Linked DNA regions of Homo sapiens: region 2 is linked to region 1. Evidence: promoter capture Hi-C in 16 types of primary human blood cells and fetal thymus (Javierre and others, 2016). All regions are on one chromosome and are shown on one strand. Each heading gives the region's core, a stretch centred on a gene start or on the middle of the fragment in contact. The rest is flanking DNA. Distances are from core to core; before and after follow the strand shown.

What was found. Contacts are between HindIII fragments. The CHiCAGO score rates a contact against its expected background, and 5 or more counts as called.
Region 2: the fragment with the promoter of DNAH17 here is called in contact with the fragment with the promoter of CEP295NL in region 1 in 10 of 17 cell types (total CD4 T cells, non-activated CD4 T cells, total B cells and 7 more); the score reaches 14.8 in total CD4 T cells.

What each region holds. Positions count from the first base shown.
Region 1 is chr17:78,900,724-78,904,554 of GRCh38, forward strand. It overlaps CEP295NL (CEP295 N-terminal like), which reads right to left and starts at 2,478. Exons shown (of 3, transcript NM_001243540.2): 1 at 2,411-2,478; 2 at 1,062-1,203. The coding sequence starts at 1,105. All of the region lies in intron 1 of TIMP2 (TIMP metallopeptidase inhibitor 2), which reads right to left. RefSeq lists an enhancer at 1,657-2,257. The HindIII fragment of the contact is 4,047 bases long and covers 1-3,562 here.
Region 2 is chr17:78,575,532-78,578,945 of GRCh38, forward strand. It overlaps DNAH17 (dynein axonemal heavy chain 17), which reads right to left and starts at 1,865. Exons shown (of 81, transcript NM_173628.4): 1 at 1,764-1,865. The HindIII fragment of the contact is 12,238 bases long and covers 1-3,414 here.

The sequences.
Region 1 (3,831 bases), core at 1,228-3,727:
GAGGTTTTTAACAGCTTGCACAACTGGCCAAATCTTACAAGATAAAAAAAGGTAATGGGAACACATCTAAAACTTATATGTGGGTCCCTAAATCCAACTATGCAAGTACAGAGGTGGGTGTGTGGAGCAGCACAGGGGACAAAAGACGCTGGGCCACCAGAAGGGCCAACGTGACTGTCCCCTGAGTGAACAGAAACGCCTCTAACATGCGAGCGAATGGTGCAGCCCAGCCAGCCCGACCTCACCTGGCCATGCTAGGAGGCAGTGGGCAAGCGGCAACGCTGTGGTGCCCAGGACGCCGGCAGGCACAGCGCCACGTCCACGGGCACCGCCCGTTCCCACCCTGCAGGACGCCACAGCATCAGACGAGACGGCCCGTGTGAAGCGCCGAGAACAGAGTCTGGCTTCCGGGAGGGCTCAGGAAATGCCGAGAGCTCGGCAGAGACACCCACGTGGTGCTGGATTCCACGCACGAGGAACCGACGGGCAGACGTGGAGCTAAATGATGGTCAACAGCTACGAAGTGCCTGTGCTCTAGAAATGGCCAATTTGATCATGTCACGGGATAAAGTTTCAAAATCAATAAAACCGTGATGAAATGATCAGGAATAAACCTGTCCAGAACTGTTCAAGACCTAAAGGAGATGCACGGGCTGAAGAACAAGGAGCAAATCTGAACGAGGGAGAGGTGTGTCTTCCTGGACAGTTCTCGGGAGAGGAGGAGGGCGGTAAGGACGGGGAGAAGAGGCCGCAGGCTTGGAGTCCAGGAGGAGAATGAACTCCTTTGGTCAGGAGGGGCCCACTGACCAAAGGTCCTAGGAAGAAAAGCCAAAGGAGGTGAGGTGGGGCAAGGGTGTTTGCAAAGGATAGAAAAGTCTAGAATGGCAGAGTATGGTGCTTAAGAGTACTATGTGACCTAGGCCAAGCGACTTCACTCTGGGTGCCTCAGTTTGCTCTTTAGGATGGGGATGATAACAACAGCAGCACCCATCTACAGAGATGCCAGTGCTTGTCACCACGAGAAGCACCTGAAATGCTTGGGGAAGAGGGGTGGTACTTACTGTGTGTGTCTCCAGATGACTGAGCTAGACCACCCAGAACACATTACAGGGAGGCAGAAGCTGACAGGAGGGCAGGAAGCACTGTCTCCAGGGCTGTCTTGAAATCACTGGGCTGACTTTGTAGGTAGTGAGACGCCCATCACTGGAGGCATCCGAACCAAGCCCAGATAAAACAAACATCAGAAACATTTTTAACTCCGTTTCTCTGAGTTCTAGCCTCTAAAAATACCCTCCATGACACGCTGTGTGCTGCCAGAGGCTTGGTTTTCGCCCTCTTCTCCCCAACTCTTAGCCACGTCCCAGTGGTGGCGGGGGGACGGGGGTCCCAAGCCACTGCACTGGGTTTTGGTTTCACTATGTTGCCCAGGCTGGAGTGCAGTGGTGCGATCTCAGCTTACTGCAACCTCCACCTTCCGGGTTCAAGCAATTCTCCTGTCTCAGCCTTCCCAAGTAGCTGGGACTACAGGCGCACGCCACCACACCCAGCTAATTTTTGTATTTTTAGTAGAGACGGGGATTCACCATATTGGTCAGACTGGTTACAAACTCCTGACCTCAGGTGATCCACTCGCCTCGGCCTCCCAAAGTGCTGGGATTCCAGGCATGAGCCACCATGCCCAGCCTGCACTGGGTTTTGGACTGGCTGTGTTAGCATCACCTGGGGCAGGGGTGGGTCACGTTAGAATGAGTCCTGGCTAGGCCCACAGCAGGCTTTTCCACCCGAATACTGGGGCCACAGCTCATGAATCTGTGTGTATCCATATCCTGGGCTGGGTCAGCTCTCCAGGGTGGAGATGGTTGGGCAGGCAGCCTCTGGGGGCAAGCTCGGGCTCAGGCCTCCCCTTGACCAGCTTCACAGAGACAGACACTGAGGCAGACTGACCTCCAAACTCCCAGCTGAGACGCCAGCTCCCCACGTGGGGGGCTTACAGCTGATGCAACCGGTGGCTCACTAAACATACCTCGACAGCGTCCATTACCGCTTCCCTGCAAACCTCAAGATCCTAAGCACCCAGCCTAGGTCAGGGGTCCCCAATCCCAGCAGGTGTTCCTGCTTCCTGAAGACCCCCCAGCCCAACTCCTCCAACAACCATATTCATCTCCAACCCAGTCCCACCAGCTTCCCTCACTCTCCTTCCCATCACACTGCCTGTGGGGAGCCCCGTGGTGCAGGGACTTTGCCGCTGGCCTTGCGAACCCACGGCTTGGAGCCCCTCCTTGGCCCACTCTCCGGGGCCCTCTTGGGAGCCTCGCTAAACAGCTGGGCATGGAAAGAACCCCACCCTCACCACAGATGGGAACAGACACAGAGAGCCTCAGCCCCGCAGTGGTCTCAGGGGCCCACTGACCAAAGGTGGCCGGAATCGCTTCCCCGCCTCCACCTGCAGCCCGGCCTCTGCCCTGGCTGGCTACTCATAGCAGGCTGTTGCCATGGGAACAGCAGAGCTGTTGAGCTGTGACATCATGGCAGGGGTGAGGTCAGGGACAGCTGTGAGCCAGCCAGGGGGCAAGCGTGTAGGTTAGGGGATCAATCATAAAGATTTGGCTCAAGCAGCCGGGAGCCATGGGGGCACCTGAAGGCACTGTTTAAGGAGGTGTGGGTGAACAAGGACAGTGCAATGTACAAATGCTCGTGGCCATACCAGGCAGAGGACATCTTTTTGTCCCCAGCTGGCTGCATGGAGACCTCCCAGGGTGTCATTCTCTCTGAGCTGTCAGGCCATTAAGGAGGTACACTTCAAGGTCAGGGTTCCTGACAACGCCTGCCATCCCTTCTCCTGTAGGGACAGCATCTGTTCACGCTTCTAAACAGCTCCAGAAAGCCATCGTTAAACTGAAACCCACTGGAGGCGGGGGAAGAAAGAATCCCGTCAACCACCTGCCCACACAGGAGGAGAAGCCACACGTACTTGGCCTCGTTTGAGGGCTAGTTCCCCACAGACAGTTTGATCAGAAGGATGGGCGAGGGAAGCTGGCAGGGCGAGGCTGGGGATGAACATGGGACACTGGGGGAGTCTGGCCGGTGCAGGGGGTTTCCAGGAAGCAGGAGTAGCTGCTGGAAATGGGGGCCCCTGACCTAGTCTGGGTGGTTGGCATCTTAAGGTCTGTGGTAAAGTGATGACTGGCATTGTCAAGATATGTTTTTTGTTTGTTTTTTAGACAGTCTTGCTCTGTTGCCCAGGCTGGAGTACGGTGGCGCAATCTCGGCTCACTGCAACCTCTGCCTCCCGGGTTCAGGGATTCTAGTGCCTCAGCTTTCTGAGTAGCTGGGACTACAGGTGCATGCCACCATGCCCAGCTAATTTATGTGTGTGTGTGTGTGTTTTAGCAGAGACGGGGTTTTACCATGTTGGCTAGGCGGGTCTTGAACTCCTGACCTCAAGCGATTCCCCTGCCTCGACCTCCCAAAGTGCTAGGATTATAGGCACGAGCCACCGCCCCCAGCCCAAGATATGTTTTAGTAAGCCGCCAGTTGGATCATCTGTAAGCAACTCACTAGAAGCTTCCAGCATCCTCCACAAATTTGACAACTGAGAAATGTGGCTGGGAAATCATGATTTGGGTCCGAAGAAGTGAAAGCAACAATCCTCAGGTTGTTGTTTCTTGAGAGAAGAAGGTAAACAGCAGGAATTCGGCTGAGGTGTCCAAATCTCGGGGAGGATGAATTCTCAGGAGAGCTGAACCTGAGACAAAGCCCTTTGTCCTGGGCTGGAAGGACCCTGGAAAGGTTATCTGGTCCCTGACTCAGGGAAGGGAGGCATTCTCCCTG
Region 2 (3,414 bases), core at 615-3,114, 330 kb before region 1:
GAAGCAGACCCCACGTGCAGGCCGTGAGGCTCAGCGCTCAGTCTTAGCCGCAGCCGTGGTGCACCTTAACTTTCACTCTGCTCTGCACCCTTTCTCCCTCCAGCCCCCAGCGTGCACCCCTAAAAGAATCGAGCTGCAAATTCCTGACAGACCCCTCACAAGCTGCTCAGATGCTCGGGGGTAGGGTTAACTAGAGAATTGGGGGGAAGGGATCCCCTTAAAGAACACCCTGAAGTCCCAAAGTTTAGGCAAGTGAGGTACTTACAGAATTTAAAGACACACCCAAACAGTCATCAAGAGAAAAGGCATGTCAATATTTTTAAACATCAAAATGAATGCAAACAAATTTATGAACAAAATACCAAAGTTTCAAATAAAGACAGGCTCTGGCAAGAGGCCTGAGGTGGGGGCCTTGGAGGCGAGTTCTGCAAGGGCAGGGTTGAATGCAAAGGGTCGCCTGATGCTGTGTTTTCATCACAATCTGGGAGGTATGCAGCTCCTGAATTTCAAGGGGAACCCTGGGGTATTCAGCTGCTCTGGGGGTCCGTGGGCTGGGGCTGGCCTGCTCCAGACCTGGCAGCTGCTGAAAAGCATCAGGGTGGACAGATGACGTTGGAAGCACTCACAAATTCTGCCTTTTGGTTTGACCCAAGCTATTGCTTTTAAGTTTGTAACAGCCTACAGTTCCCCAAAAGACACGTAATACCACGGAACAGGTTTATTTCACCCTGGCCACTATATATCGGCAAAACAACTATATGATGGGAAGCAGTAGTGGATAGCATTTGGATGCTATTCAAATGGTCTGAGATTTATTCAAGGCTCCAAACATCTCTGAGAGAGGACTTGGGGAATATTTGGCCAGCAAATGGCAGAAACATGGCGGTCCACGAGCAAAGCCACCCGATTCAGGCACATCTGTGAAAGAAAAAGGGGACACCACCAGGCAAGTAGGAGGAGCACCGCGTGGCATTTATGGAGATGACTCGTTCACCAGGTTCCCACAGGGCTTTCAGCATGCTGCTGAATTAATCTCCACCCAGGATCTCCGAGACCCGGGGACGCGTCACGTCGTCATTTCCTAGGGGGATCAGGAACTCAGGGGAGCCCGAGTCCTGGAAGGTTCCTGATTGGAAGTCTCGCCAAGCTGGTCAGGCGACTGGACTGGAGGGAAACATCCTCTGGTTTACTGATTTTGTGGATTTGGGCTTTCACAAAGTCATCTTTTCTTCCAAGAACGGCATGGGGTGGGCTGCCTCCCAAGCCATAACATGTGTGGGCTGAGGGGCCCCTACACCCCGCAAGTTTCTTGCACGATCGGGAGGTCTCATCTCAGGCTCCCACCCAGCCGTTTCCTGGGCTGAAGGCCAGGAGGTCCCAGTTAACAATAGGGTTGTCCCAGGCCATGCTTCCGGAGGGGCAGAGACGGCTTCTCTGGGAGGTGGCCCATGCCCCAGGCCTTCAGGACTCCACAGGAGGAAGCTGGGGCTAGGGGCTTCCAGGAGAAGCCAGGGGGCTGAGGCAAGGCCTTCCCAGGAGCAGGGAAGAGTCTGGAGCCCTGGAAGGGGTCAGGCTGGTACGTGGCAGCCAGCCTCGGGGTCCCAGAGCCATGAACAGCTCCCGGTGGCGAGCAGAGCCACTTCTGGGGTAAGTGGAGGGTCTGCTGTCTGCCAGGGCCTAGGTCCCACCTCCATCCTCTGAAGGCCTCCCTGCTCCCTCCACCTTGGCCTCCGACTCCCCCAGCATGGTTGAAGGCCGCTCACCAGCTGAAGGCAAACAGCTTCTCCCGCAAACTGATGAGCAACTCTTTCCCAAACCAGGAAAGAAAATGGCTCCCTTCCCTCGAGGGGCTCCAACTGCCACATAACTTCTGGGAGTCTCCTCACGGTACCTGGGGCTTCTAGAACCTTCCCCTTGGGACCCAAGTAACCAATGATAGCGCAGCAAATGAGGAACCAACCGTCACCCCACAGTGGAAAGGCTCTTAGATGATCATTTTGAGGGGAGGTTGGAGGGGGGACAGGGTCGCGCTCTGTTACCCAGGCTGGAGTGCAGTGGTACAATCATAACTCACTGCAGCCTCAAACTCCTGGGCTTACGTGATCCCCCCCCCTCAGCCTCCTGAGAAGTTAGGACAACAGACGCACATCACCACACCTGGCTAATTTTTGTACTTTTTGTAGAGATGAGGTCTCACTCTGTTGCCCAGGCTGGTCTCAAACTCCTGGCCTCAAGCAATCCTCCCAAAGTGGAAAGGAAGACATTATCTCTGTTTACAATAAGGTGATCTTGTATGTAGAAAATCCCAAGAAATCCATAAAATTGTAGAGCTAATAGAGGAATTCAGCAAGTTTGCAGTATACAAGATATTTGAAAATTAATTATATTTCTCTGTAATTATATTATGAACAATCTGATGATGAAATTTAGAAAACAATTGTCCCCATAATGAACAATCTGATCATGAAATTTAGAAAACAACTCCCATTTACAACAGCATCAAAATAATTTCGTTTACAATAGCGTCAAAAACAACAAAATACTTAGGAATAAACTTTAAAAAGAAGTGTTAAGACTTGTACACTGAAAACTGCAAAACATCATGGAAATAAAGACAACCTAAATCAATGGAAGGACATGCTGTGTTCATGGGTTAGAAGATTGTTAAGACGGGCCAGGCGTGATGGCTCACGCCTGTAATCCCAGCACTTTGGGAGGCCAAGGCGGGTGGATCACGAGGTCAGGAGATCGAGACCATCCTGGCTAACACGGTGAAACCCCATCTCTACTAAAAATACAAAAAAATTAGCCGGGCGTGGTGGTGGGTGCCTGTAGTTCCAGCTACTCAGGAGGCTGAGGCAGGAGAATGGCATGTACCTGGGAGGCGGAGCTTGCAGTGAGCCGAGATCCCGCCATTGCCCTCCAGCCTGGGAGACAGAGTGAGACTCCGTCTCAAAAAAAAAAAAAAAAGAAGATTGTTAAGATGACGACAGTTCTCCTCAAGTTGATCTGCAGATTCAACACAATCCTTATCAAACTCTCAGCTGCCTTTTTTGTAGAAATGACCCTAGATTTTATAGGGAAGTATGAGGGAACAAAAACCATCCAAACAACTTTGAAAAAGAACAAAGTCTGAAGACACACACTTCCTGATTTCAAAACTCACTACAAAGCTACAGTTATCAAGACAGTGCTACCAGCATAACAATAGACAGAGATCACTAGAATAGAATTGAGGTTCCAGAAATAAATGCATCCATTTATGGACGATTGAGTTAGCAAAGGTGCCAAGACAACTCAATGGGAAAAGAATCACCTTTTCAACAAATGGTATTGGAATAACTGAATACCCACATGCGGAAAAACGAAGCTGGGCCCTTACCTCACGCCATCTACACGAATTAACTCAGCATA